Linked DNA regions of Homo sapiens: region 1 is linked to region 2. Evidence: promoter capture Hi-C in 16 types of primary human blood cells and fetal thymus (Javierre and others, 2016). All regions are on one chromosome and are shown on one strand. Each heading gives the region's core, a stretch centred on a gene start or on the middle of the fragment in contact. The rest is flanking DNA. Distances are from core to core; before and after follow the strand shown.

What was found. The method cuts DNA at HindIII sites, captures the fragments that hold promoters and counts their contacts. A CHiCAGO score of 5 or more calls a contact.
Region 1: a fragment that was not itself captured here is called in contact with the fragment with the promoter of DOCK4-AS1 in region 2 in 1 of 17 cell types (M0 macrophages); the score reaches 5.4 in M0 macrophages.

The regions. Positions count from the first base shown.
Region 1 is chr7:112,288,570-112,295,470 of GRCh38, reverse strand. All of the region lies in intron 2 of ZNF277 (zinc finger protein 277), which reads right to left. It also overlaps the pseudogene RN7SKP187. Among named protein-coding and RNA genes, the nearest start is that of ZNF277-AS1, 59 kb to the left of the region's middle. The HindIII fragment of the contact is 3,328 bases long and covers 391-3,718 here.
Region 2 is chr7:111,806,516-111,814,096 of GRCh38, reverse strand. DOCK4-AS1 (DOCK4 antisense RNA 1) reads right to left here and starts at 5,592. Exons shown (of 2, transcript NR_103806.1): 1 at 5,484-5,592. DOCK4 (dedicator of cytokinesis 4) reads left to right here. Exons shown (of 53, transcript NM_001363540.2): 28 at 2,148-2,223; 29 at 4,696-4,796; 30 at 5,218-5,276. The HindIII fragment of the contact is 9,376 bases long and covers 1-7,315 here.

The DNA.
Region 1 (6,901 bases), core at 805-3,304, 480 kb before region 2:
GGTTATCTTATGTATCAAAAGAACAGAGGTCAGAAGAATAATGCAATGAGAAATCAGTCTAAATTCAATATCAATATAACAAGACAGAAAAATTCCATATGTCTACACTGAGTCTGAAATGAGGCAAATTTAGACTTTGGAAAAATAGCCTAACTTACAATTCTTGTATCTAATGAGCAGAGTTAGAAGCAACACACCAGCTAAATTAAAAACCAAAGCCTAACACCCAGACCTACATATGTGATGAAAGAGGGAGTAAGATGACAGGATTTAACAAGTGGTTTATCTTTCCATTTATCTAACAAGATTTATATTGGCAACTGCAATCTCATTTATTGAATGGTACCAAGAAGAGAGTGTTATCTTCATAGAGAGAGGAAAAGGAAAGCTTGATTCTATAGCTCCCAATTTATCAGGCCACACAACTGAGGGACAAAACAAGTAACTTACACCAAAGAACCAAAAAAAGAAATGGGACTTATTGAAATAGATGAAGAATATAGAAAGAGTAGAAATTTGGACATTTTAAATGGCTTGACTTAGCACATCTAGGAATGTTTTGGATATATTAGGTCCACAGTAAATGTTTTAAAGAAGTAGAGAATTTGAAGATTCCTGTAAAGTTCTCTAAGTAGTCCCCAATTCCCAATATTTTGTCTCCTTTTTATTATTAATTTTTTTCTTAACATTAATTTTCCAATACCATGGTGCTCTATGGAAAGGGCATTTGTGTATTAGAAGTCTGTGCTGGAGAGAGGTCTGGGAGAAAGAGATAAACATGACACGAGCTGACATCAAATAAAAATACACTGAATGAATATAGAATATGTAAGAAAAAGAAGCCAATGAATAGTGTATAAAAATAGAATCCCATGTTTAAGTTTTTCTTCTCCTGTACAACCACACTGTTAACTTTGATGGGTAAGTAAGGGGAGAACCCTTTCCTTATAAAACAGTGCTAACTTGTATTCTAGGAGATCTTAAAATGGCAATCTTAAGCTCCCATTGAGCCTTAAACCACAAATATATAAATGATGCACCCTACTCCTTGGCTAACTCACTGGCTTCCATATTAGAAATCTCAGAAGAAGGCAAGTGCATATTGGATCCATCACAGCAGATAAATAGAGAAAAAGTACCTACAAAAGGCTGGGACATTATTTCCTTAGCCATCCTGGGCCAGCTTCAACACGTTGTACTCCTCAGTCTCCTACATGGCTACTCCTAGTCTCTATCTTTCCATTCCTCACTAGTTGCTTTCCCCACCACCCCATGGTAGAGAGGAAAAAAGGGGAAAGAGAAGACAAGAGGAGGCTTAAGAGAATAAAAATGACATTCCTAGTCCTTTTCTTATTCTCCCCCAAGCACATTTTCTATTACAAAGTGGTGACAGGGATGAAGGAACACAGTAGAACCTGTATTAGAGATGTTAGAACAGAAGATGGATTATTCCTCTAAATTGAAATATAGACATCTATTTTCATGATTAATCAAATTTATACATGGCAGAACCAGGTGCTAAGATAACTGACTTCAAAAGACAGGAAGGCCAAGTTCCCTCTGGAGGTTCCCTACTGCTACTGCTAGAATACACCAAGGAGTGGATCGTCAGTCCTGGTTGCCACTCCATTGAGGACTATCTGGATGGTATCCTCTAGACAAAACGGAGACTAGTGGTCAGCCCTATATAATTAGTTCCATTTTGGGTCTAGAGCCTGTTGAAAGGCAGTGATAACTCCTTGAATACACAGACTACTTTACTTTGGAAAATGTTCACAGTCTTAGAAAAGTATCTGTGTGAAACCATGTGGAACAGATGACCAGGCAAGAGCTTGGATCCTCGTGAACAGACTGCTCTTTGAATTATTAATGACTTTTTTTTTTTTTTTTTGAGATAAGATCTGGCTCTATTGCCCAGGCTGGAGTGCAGTGGAGTGATCTCAGCTCTCTGCAACCTCTGCCTCCTGGGCTGAAGACATCCTCCCCACCTCAGCCTCCCGAGTAGCTGGGACTATAGGCACGCACCACCATGCCCAACTAATTTTCCTATTTTTTTTGTAGAGATGGGGTTTTGCCATGTTGCCCAGGCTAGTCTTGAACTTGTGAGCTCAAGCAATCTGCCCGTCTTGGACTCCCAAAGTGCTGGGATTACAGGTGAGAGCCACTGTGCCTGGCCAATGACTTTTTTTTAAATGGACAATCAATATTGTCCCTTGCTTATCTGCACAGATCTTATGCTAGAAGCAGTTTTGCTTTTTAAATTAAGACAGTGGTCAAAGTATCATAGTTAATGTATTAATTACCACCCCGGAGGCAATGGTGAATAGAGAAGCAAGGACTTTGAATTCAAAGGTATGAACCTGAACTTAAAGTTATTTAATCTTTCTGAAACTCAGTTTATTCATGTGCAAAATAAATTGTTGATAATTAAATAGAATAATGCATGTAAAGCACGCTGTCCAAAATTCTGGGTGTTTAATATATATGACAGTTATTACTATAAGAAAAAGTAACATATTTAAATAAGACTAAGGTAGTGAATAATTTATATTTATCCCAGGGAAATAATGAGACACACAACAAAAACAACAACAACATTTCAGCAAACATTTGATGAAAAAGACAAAATAGTTATATTAATAGCGTCAGAGGGCACATATAGGTGGCTAAAGTGGTAGAAGAGAAGAATGATGATAGTGACAATAATGACAATTATTAGCAGCTACCATTTAATGAGTCCTTACTTGCCCAAGGTCAATTAAAATGTTAGAATTGAGATGTGAACTTTGTCTCTCTGGCTCCAAGGCCAAACTCAATCTTCTACAACACAGTTCCTCTAGTGTCATGTGGGGACGAATCGGTACAAGAAATGCAGAAAAGGGAAGGCAGGGACAGGAAAGAGCCCCTATAATTAAAGTTGTAATAGAGAGTTGAAGCATTTTTTTCCCCTCAGAGACCAATGAGGTCACATAGAATGCTTTTTGACAAGGCAGAACCAGAAGTACAGAAATGAAGTCTGAAGAGGAAGAGAATGTTTTCCCCTTCCGAAAGGCATACTACTTAACAGTAGCCCTCAGTCTGAACTGCTCCTAAGTTGCTACCTAAGGGCTGAAAATTGACACCAACTGTTTGGGGCTGTTTTGGAACTGCTTAACTAGGCAAGGAAAGGGTGCAGAGAAGTTCCACTACAGAGGTAACAGGAGCCTGATTCCAATAGTCAGTGGGTCTCAGTTTCCAAAAACTTCTATGTTTGAGTACTGTCTCTTTGATGTCTGAAGAGAAGAATCACATGACATGCTTACTTTCCATCAGAGTTTACTTCAAGGTGATATGCACATGGGAAGAAATTACTGACATCAATTAACTTAGAATCATGGGGAGATTCTGCCTGGCAGAACCTCGGTTGCCCTCCTCAAATAGGAAGTGTTTCCCATGGGATAAAGCAGGTAATAGGTTGGTCCAAGAGGAACAAAGTTGTCATTTGAGTGTTCTCTTCCTAACCAAAACTTGGGTGACAACAACATCAAAGAAAAAAAAATCATCTGTTACAAAGCAAAATATAACCATAAACCATCATACAACTTAAACATATAAAATTAGGCATCATATCTTACTGTGGTATACTATAGACAACAACAACAACATACATTTGACCTATGTCTAAATTTGAGTAAAGAAACATCCTAGTTATTAAACACATAATAGTGGTTTTTAAGCTTATAATTAAGAGGTGTCAATATATACATTTCCTTTCGGATGGTATGGGCATTCAGATAAATTGTAATCAACTGAGTGATAGAATAAAGATAGCAGATCTTCAGTACATGCTTCTTGTGGCATTTTTTCCCACTCACTAGAACACTGTTCAAATTTAAGAGCTCATTTAGTACTTCTCTTCTGTATTTTTCCTACTTCTCTAGTTTACTGAAAGCTACAATTGCAGCTACTCAATATATAAAGGCCACTAAGAAATAACATGTGGTAGGAACTCTATTTGGATGAGTTATCAAAGTATTTCATACTTCATTAAAAATCTATAAAAGTAATTACTAGGTCATCAGCAAATACTTTTTTTCTTCCAAAGGAACTTCAAATCATGTCTCACAGAATTGTCTCACAAAAAATCCTTGTTGCAATATCTTGCCTGCCCACCCTCACTGTAATTGGTATGGTTATTGACATAGTCATAAAGGTTTGAAATATGGTTGTTAATTAAGTAGCAGTGAATGTGTGGAATTTAATATAGAAAAGGGTAAGAAATAAGAAGTTAACATTTATTTTCCAGAGCAATTTTATCTACTGAATAAAGCTAGCAAATAGCTCAGTATAAATAACTATGTTAAATGGACTCAATGGAAAGATTTTTATTTTTGTTTTTATTTCTCCTGCCCCAGGAAGTTTTAGTGTTATTTTGTTTCATAAAAAATTATATATTTAGTATGAAAACTTATAGCTTACTTCTTGTAAACCACAAGGTAAGTCCATCTCTTATTTATTATCATCTTCATTATCTATTGTACTCAGAAGCAACAATTCCTCTTGAGTTCTGAGTGAATGTGTTCATGCCAAATAAATCTCTCATGTTCCCTCCTCCCAACCCTACACCTTATACCTTGTCTTCTAAAATTAGAAACAAGTTACATGATGTTGAAAAGATTCCAACTTAACTTTGATCATAACAATCAATACCTGGATTGTTTGGGAGAGGAATTTTTAGTTTCCTTAAGTAGTAGGAGGTTATTATCTAAAGAAGACTGGATACAGTCAAAGGTATTTAAAAGCAACAGAGTTTACTCAGATACATGCCTGATCAATCAGAATTAATCACATTTATACTTGCTGAGAGTGAAAATTTTACTTAATTAGAAGGACAGTTGACAAGGAAAATCTAGGTTTCCATATTTCAAATACATGTTAAAGATACACTTTAGAAAGCACTTATATCAGATATGCATCCTTTTCTTTTTAATTAAAGCATCCATTTTATTGTATATCTGCATTTAGAGCATGAATAATCCCAGCATTTAATTACTGACTCCTAAGTCCCGAGACCTAGTAAATAATTCAATTTTTCTGCCCACGTATGCATATTAGGATAATGAGATTAATAACAATGATACAAATAGAGAGATTGATTAGTACAAATATAGCTACTTAACTATGACACATAAGCACAAAGGAGAATACAAACTCTGATTCAGACATTCCTCACATACTTTACGGGCAGAGGAGAAAGAAAAATCTTAAACTATTCAATTATCACTGGTAGTTAATACTGTTCTTCTGCAATTCCTGAAGGAAAATTTGTGTTTATATGATAAAAGGGAATAAAAGAACAGTTTCATGGCTAGGCACGGTGGCTCACACCTGTAATCCCAACACTTCAGGAGGCCGAGGTGGGTGGATTGCTTGAGCCCAGGAGTTCTAGACCAGCCTGGGCAACATGGTGAAACCATAAAAATTTAAAAACATAAAAAATTAGGTGCAGCGCACCAGCATGGCACATGTATACGTGTGTAACTAACCTGCACAATGTGCACATGTACCCTAAAACTTAAAGTATAAGAAAAAAAAAAAATTAGCCAGGCGTAGTGGTGCATGCCTGTAGTCCCAGCTACTTGGGGAGGCTGAGGTGGAAGGATTGCTTGAGCCAGGGAGGTGGAGGTTGTACTGAGCCAAGGTCGTGCCACTGCACTCCAGCCAGGACTCAAAAAGAAAAATAAAGGTTTCATATTAAAGAAAAGCTGACTAATAGAAGCCTTAGGAAAGAATAACCTATGTAGTATTTCTTTCAATGGTTGAGTATGAATTAGAAGATCTCTAGCCTAAGAAGTGTCTGAAACAAAATCAACAGATCTCACCACATATAACTGGGTTGCATATAAGAAAGCTCCCAGAATACTCTGAGAATAAAGACATACACACACATATATTTTAATGAGAATAAAGAATAACAAATGATAATGAGGAGCAGAGAGTATGTCCTATGAGAGCATGTAGGGAATTAGTTTATTTTAGCAGTTGGCAATATATATCATTCAATTAACTGTCCTCCTATCTCTGAGACCTGATAAGGCAGCACCAAAATCTCTTGAAAAATAGTAGTGCTGAGTCGATATAAGGCAACATACACAGAAGGCACATGGTAAATATTCAGTATTGGTGCTAGGCAATAAGGACAGAGATGAAGGCTAGAGAATAGTTATCATTACCCCTGTGGGTATGCTGGCTATTCCAACTTAAACTATCTTTCCAAAAATTTAGATTATTTAGAAACTTGAATGAAATTTTCTCAAAAGCTATATTTTACAAATGATAATTAGGTTTTTAGATTAGCATAAATACAAATGGAAAACTCAAACGATAGCTGCAGAAAACTAAGATTTCAAATATACCTTCGGTGATAAAAATACAAATAAAATTTTGCATTTTATCTACCATTTATCAGGTACACATGTCTCAGGCACTAGCAGATGCTACACATACTCTTCTTTTTTTTTTTTTTTTTTTTTTTTTTTTAAGAAAGGCAGACTGCCACATGCAGCACTTCATTTGGATGTGTCTGGAATCTTGGAAGCTTGACTACCCTATGTTCTCCTACAAATGGACTTGAGAGCTTGTCTGGAGGTTCCAGCAGGGAAGCGCAGCTACTCGTATACCCTTGACCAAAGACTGGTCCTCTTCTAGTGGAGATGGTTGTCCTCTTTGACTGAGAACACAGCTTTGGGAGGCATGAACATGGAGTGGTGAGGGAGGAAGGGGACAGCCACTTAGCCAGCCAGATCAGCCGAATCAACCCTGGCGATTAATGGGGTGACAGATGTCACAGCCAGATCGCCCTCACATTCCATACTTTGTTTTATGTAATATTCAATAACCATGAGGGCTGGTGTTACCCCCA
Region 2 (7,581 bases), core at 4,343-6,842:
CACTAACACCAGAGGTATTGTGTCTGAACGTCAATCTAAGCTGAAACTGTGGACCACAAGGTGATTTTTAATGTAAACCCCAGGTGTAGTGGGACTGTGTGTATTTCTCGTTGAACATCAAAGCAGAAAGTTTGTGCTTATAACCACATGTTAAGCATACAGATTTTTCTTCTTTAAACTTAGAAGTCCAGTGATCTTACTGGATGCTAGGCAAGAACAACTTCCTTGCCTGATAGCCTTTCATTTTCTGATGATTCAGCTTCAGTTTCATATAGTAAAACTTGAGTAAAATACTTTGGAACAGTAATGATGTCTTCAGTTATCATTGATTTTTCCAGTGTCTTTGGGAAATTGCCGCATTATACCATCATTTGCAGGTGATGTATCTCTTTGATATGACTTGCACTGATGATATCTGCCATTTAGGGGACTGAAGAAACCACAAGACTTCTCGATCTCATAGGTTTTTATTATACTTAAATTTAATAATAAGATTCACTGAAAGGTACATATGACATATGTAAAATGCACACGCATGTAACAGTGCCTGTTCATGGTAGAGCGAATGCCCATGAAATCGTGGTTGTCTTGTTTCCTTTTCATTACCTTGAACTTCCACATTCAACCATCAACTTACCCTTGTTAATTACCCTTGTTAATATTTCCCTACCCCACAAGAAAGCTATAATAGTGAGTTTCCCAGCAGATAACAATAATGAATATTTATGTCTTTCAAAGTCTATATTTTTCTAACTAGTAAATATAATCTATATTAGCAAGATAACCAAAGTTTGAAGTTGATACTGTATTTTGTTTTCTTTTGTTTTTTCATTTTACCTAGGGTGACATAAATACATCCTCCAATTGCAAATCCCATGAAGAGAACTGAGGCTTTACCATATCACACACTCATTACACATGCATCTCAGAAAAGGTCAAAGAAATTTTAAATATCGACAATTTATATATTGATCCTCAGTTTATAGTAGCTCAAGGGGTGGCTAATCTTGCTTTAGTATAATGCTGTGTTAAACATTAAGTGAACCAATTGGAAATATGTTCAACTTTAAATATTTATCTCCTGGTTATAAAAATTAGCAGATTTTGAACAAATTGCAGAGCTCTAGAACTAACCAAGAATGCTCATCAAATCCTTCTTTTTAAAATCTCCCCAGCGAGCTACCTATGGCTGTATTGGTCAGGCTTTTCCTGATTTCTCCTGCCCTGGAGATGACCCTTTCTCTGAATGTCTGTAACACTGTCGGTTTCACACAGCTTCGTACTGGGTTATAGACAATTTCACAGTCTGTAATTGTTTCTTTAGTGGCAGTCTTGTCACCCTTAAAGAGGGAATCTGCCTTCTATAGCTCTTGCATGCCCTCTAATACCTTAAACAGGGGAGAACAGAGAGAAGTCTAATAAATACTCAATGTATTCTATTATTTTTTCCTATCTATTTTGTCTTTGGGCTCCATTTTTTCCTCTGCATTTTAAAAAGCATGGCTTTCTTTTATGATAATCAAATATGGAATGTTGCCTGTAATCCTAGCACTTGGGGAGGCCCAGACAGGAGGATAGCTTGAGGTCAGGATTTCAAGACCAGCGTGGTCAACAGAGTGAGAACCTGTCTCAGAAAAACTGAAAAACCATTTGGCTGGACACAGCAGCATGCACCTGTAGACCCAGCTACTTGGAAGGCTGAGGCAGGAGGATCACTTGAGCCCAGGAGTTTGAGGCTGCAGTGAGCTATGATCATGCCACTGCACTCCAGCCTGGACAACAGAGCAAGACCCTGTCTCAAAAACAGAAAAATATGAAATGTTATGTTTGTAGTAAATCATTTTGCTTTGTTTGGAAATTAACAAAAAACATTACAAAACATCAAGGTGATAATATATTTCTGTCTGAGCCATATGAATTCATAGATCTTTCGTGTATCAGTTTACAAAGGTCCTGACTTCAGTGATAGATTTCTTCCCCTTTTATTGACCTGTTGTCTCTTTTTTGTTTCAAATATGAATTATTTAATATTGCTCCAGATGCTTACTGAAGAAGGTTTTATTTTATCTTAGTAGGTTTTTATTCTTGTATACTAAATGATTTTCACTAATATGAAGTTTTCACCTTGTCATTTTTTTTATCACTAGTGTTATTATTACAACAGTTCTATACCTCTCAGATGCACTTCGTAAGAACTTCTTAAATGAAAACTTTGATTATAAGGTAAGCATTCATTTATATGACTCTCCTGCTTGGGCTAAAAGAATCACATTGTATTATAGGAAATTACCTAACATTTTCTTGGGCCGTATTAGTTTTAACTATGAGGAATATTAGAACAGTTTTCATTATATTTGTGAACAGATGAAGACTGTTCACATAGCGCTTAAAAGGAGATCATAGCGCTTAAAAGGAGATAGTTTTTTATTGTTACTATACATTTTAATTCTTGCTCTTTTCTGTATGATCCCTGTTTATGACAAAGGAGACTCAAAACATAGTGTTTTTTACTTTTTAGAAATGGAGTTTATATGAAGAAAACGTTTACAAAGTAAACCCTTTAGTTTCTTATTTCTTTGTCTTCCCATTTTTTAGAATGAATTAATGAAAAGAAAAAAATGAAACATTGGTAAGGTTCTTTAAGGCAGAACCCTCTGTATATCTATGATATAATGTGATATGCCTGGGTGCCTACAAATTCTTGATATACTATTTTTCAAATAGCAAGTGATAAATAGCAAACAAAGATGAGCAGTGCCTATCTTGGCTTTCTTCCTCAATGGTGGTTCTTTGTTTTGGGCATCTTTCTTCTTACTCTGTTTTGAATAACATATTTCATATTAAACACTTTTATAAAATTTCCTTATTGGATAATAAGAAAATACAAAAAAGGACAAATACAATAAAAAAGGAATTTTAATAGTTACATAATATTTGTCTATGTCATAGCTTATAGTATATCAAAATTTCATATTTCATTCTTATAAATTACTCATTTTATGTACATTCTTGTAAAATAAAACTTGGCATATATCCCTAATTATTTCTTTGGTTCTTTTTTTGTTTCTGGTTTTGTTTTGTTTTGTTTTGTTTTTGAGACAGAGTCCTGCTCTGTTGCCCAGGCTGGAATGCAGTGACGCAGTCTCGGCTCACTGCCACCTCCGCCTCCCAGGTTCAAGCGATTCTCTTGCCTCAGCCTCTAGAATAGCTGGGATTACAGGCACACACCACCATGCCTGGCTAATTTTTTTTTTATTTTTAGTAGTAGTATGGGGTTTTGCCATGTTCGCCAGGCTGGCCTTGAACTCCTGACCTCAGGTAATCTGCCTGCCTCAGCCTCCCAAAGTGTTGGGATTACAGGCATGAGTCACCGCGCCTGGCCCTTAATTATTTCTTTGGATAAATATTTATTAGTGGAATTGTTGAGTGAAAGGTTGTACCAATTACATTTGATTGCTTCTTTTCCTGCAGCTACACCAACATTAGAAGAGATTTTTTTTCTGACAGATAAAGAGAAAAATCCTGTTTGCTTTAATTTACATTTCTCACTAATTATTACTTATTGACTAGTTACTAGTTATTGATCAAAATTCATATTTTTGTGAATTGTCTATTCTTGACTTTTTTTTTTCTTTTTTTTGTTTTGAGACAGAATCTCCCTCTGTCGCCCAGTCTGGAGTGCAGTGGCGCAATCTCGGCTCACTGCAACCTCTGCCCCCCAGGTTGAAGCAATTCTTCTGCCTCAGCCTACTGAGTAGCTGGGACCACAGGAGCGCACCACCACACCTGGCTAATTTTTGTATTCTTAGGATAGACGGGGTTTCACCATATTGGCCAGGCTGGTCTCGAACTCCTGACCTTGTGATCCACCCGCCTCGGCCTCCCAAAGTGCTGGGATTACAGGCATGAGCCACCGCACCTGGACTGTTCTTGACTTTTATTCATTATTTTACTTAGGGTTTTATTATATTCTTTTTTATTTGTAAGAGCTATTTACGTATAACAGATACTGATTCTGTGTCATATGTCTCCTGGTTTGTTATGTCTTTAATTTTACATGGTGTCAGTGGAGAAGTGTGTTCCTTCCATTATGTCCTTTTTTTTTTTTGCTAAGTTTATTTCAGGGAACTTTATTCAGATCTCTTTCTGATTCTGTTTTTTGGTATAAGAAAACTTAAAAGATTTGCCTGGGCAGGGAATTTTTATATAATGTCTGAATTTAAAGCAATTAGCATATCTGAAGAAGTGTATGCATTTTTTACAAGTTCTACGTTAAAAGGAGTTCCAAAAATGAACTCACACAGGAATAAAGAAATCCATCTTATACCTCATCCTCTTGGAGATACTCAGACATATTACAAGAGAAACCACGCATCTGTCTTTTAGCATATACCAAAAAGCTCGTGAAACCTGGAATACAGCTTTGGAGCAATATACACCTAGATAATAATAGTACTTATTTATTTAGTTACTTCTTCACTTTAGAAAATTTTAAGCATATGTACAAGTAGAGAGAATAGTATAATGAACCCCCATGAGGTACCCATATCCAGCTTCAACTATTATCAACTCATGGTCAGTCTTACTTCAACTATACCCTCAACCACTTTTGAAGCAAATCCAAAATACTATGTCACTTCACCTGTCAATATGCTTGTAACACCATAGTATTGATATATCTTGTTCTTGTTTTAGATCTGGGATTCCTACTTTTACCTCGCAGTCATTTTTATAAACCAGTTGTGTCTGCAGTTGGAGATGTTCACACCTTCCAAGAAGAAAAAGGTGTTAGAAAAGTAAGTATCAGTGTATAATCAGGTGAGAAATGTTGCCTCTTAAAGAGTATTTAGTTCAAATGATTCATAAATCAGAATGCGCATAACTGGAAATCACACAGTGAAGAACCAGTGACCAAGGGGTCAAGAAGCAGTCTTTTCTGGATGTTTTGATATTTCAAACATGTTTGCACATTGTTTTGACCTGGCTCTTTCAGGATTCAAAATTTCTATAGATGCAAAAAATTATGAAACAGATCTCTTTTACTAAAAGGTTTACACCAGAATTTGACTTAGAGGCATCGTGACATGTATATTAAATGTCTTTAATTAAAAACTCCTTGCCTTGTAATTCAGAATGATAGATTGTATCCTAAAGACACACAAATACTTCCTTGTTCTGGAGGCATTGTATCAGGTTTGGTTTTTTGTTCTATTTCAGGTATGGTGACATGCGGGTAACAATGGGTTGTGAAATTTTCAGCATGTGGCAAAACCTAGGTAAGTGAGGAAAAGAGAAGCCACATCTACTATACAGCTCCTCGCTGTACCTTGAAGTGTACAAATGAAGAAAGGCAATTTACCAGTGACACCATGTGAAACCAAATGTCTAAATCAATAAACATCTATAGAAAGTAATTGACACTTTGGCATTGAATGAGGTTACAACAAATTCTTTAAATTGGTCTCTAAGAAAAGTCACCTTACCTTTGTGTGTTTCATTATTAATTAACGATAAATTTTATAATCTAGCATTGCTCCAACATTACACATATTTCCAGCGATGAGGCAACCTTTCAGAATTTGGAACTGTAACAACTCAAAATTTCTAGAACTCTGAGTTGAAGCTATGAATCATAATAAATTTAGGTTAAACTTCATGAAACATTGACTTGAACGTCACTACTCTTAAAAACTTGAGACCATTGTCCTATATCATAAAGAGTATAGCCAAAGGATTTTAAAAGCATCTGCAGTTGCTAAGAAACTGTTGGATCCAATTTTGTTAATCTGCTATAGCAGATAGAGTATATTATTCCAGAAAATTGATGGTACAGATCTGGTTGCATAGAAAACAGTAATATTTGGAAAACAAATTGTTTTAAAATTCATTGGCATAGGGTCCCTTTCTAGAGATTTATAAGTTATTTCATTTGGTATGTTAACTATGCAGGTTTTTAGTATTCATTTACTATTACTGCATCTTAATGCTCCTCTTTGATTTATTAAAATGATTGACCTATTTGAGTTGAATACGTAATGACCTGAAAATATCTTTTCTCTTGGGCTTATCCAAGTACAACTTGGAGATTGGAAGGATTTATTTTCTGTGAATGAAAATAGAACCATTATTGTTTTACTTCCACTCATGTTAACAGACTGATTTTTGACCAGGATCATTACAGGGTGATTTTTTTTTAATAGGGTATGTATATTCCTCAAATATACATAACAACTTGAGGGAGCCTTGGTATATATAATTAAGCCCAGTGTTCAATGCTTGCTGGTGATTTCAGAAAAAATAAAAAATAAAAAAAAATAATGAAGCTGGGAGCAATGGCTCATGCCTGTAATCCCAGCACTTTGGGAGCCTGGAGCGGGCAGATCACTTGAGGTCAGGAGTTTGAGACTAGCCTGGCCAACATGGTGAAACCCTGTCTTTACTAAAAATACAAAAATTAGCCAGGCGTGGTGGGGGGGTGCCTGTAATCTCAGCTACTTGGGAGGCTGAGGCAGGAGAATCACTTGAACCTGGGAGGTGGAGGTTGCAGTGAACCAAGATCGCTCCATTGCACTCCATCAGCCTGGGTGACAGAGTGAGACTCTGACTCAAAAAAAAAAAAAAAAGAGTTATCATCTTGAAAACAACCTTCAACTATGTAAGGCCAGCCAGAAGATATCATGGTCTGTCTTTAGTTGCAGCTCAAAAATAGTTTTCTTATTTGGAGACTGCTCTTCTTAGTCTTCAGTGTTTTCAGGTTTCATTGATTCTTTGTGTCCTTGTTTTTCCTAAAGAAGATCAAGGCCCTTGTAGTGTCCATATTGCATTCGACATTAATTTAGCAAGATGTTTTTGAAAGAATGCTGCATTGAATCTGTTTGAATGCACTTGTGGTTGTGTAAGCTCTTTTCTGGGCTCAAATTATGAGAGCAGGACAGATTCTGTTCGGTTACAAGAATGTTAAAAAAGAATGACCAGTTTCTGTTCTAGATACATCTCAGCATTGCCATCTATGGTTATTTCCACATAAACCTGTATCCAAACCATAATAGCTATGCATTTAGGCCCATGACCCTTGGGCTGCTAAATAAAGCTGTCACATGTAATCTCCCTAAACATGTCACTGTATACTTCATAAACTTTTATCCTGTATTTTGTCTTTCTTCTAAAATGAAACTATTTCTGCCTCTCTGGTTTTTATGTTAAATTGCTTCTCTGTTTTTCTCAGAGATCTAGAGAATATGGAAAATTTCTGGAGCATATCAATACCTATAATGCAGTATTTTGTTATACTGTAGCATCAGCATCCTTGGAAGCTTGTAAGAAATGCAAAATCTCTCACTCCACCTTAGACCTACTGAAACACAATCTCTGGGATTGGGGCACAGCAGTCTGTTTTAGCAAGTTTTCCAGGTGATTCTTATGTACTTAGCTAAAAACTGAAAAGCACTGCTTTAGTTTATCCTCTTTCTTTGTTGTTACAGCCATAAAGACTTAGCTCTAGCACAATCCTAAGACGCTGTTAGAAAAGGCTCCTCCTTTATACTCAACTTACAGATTCCCAGCATGACGTGGTTCAAGCGT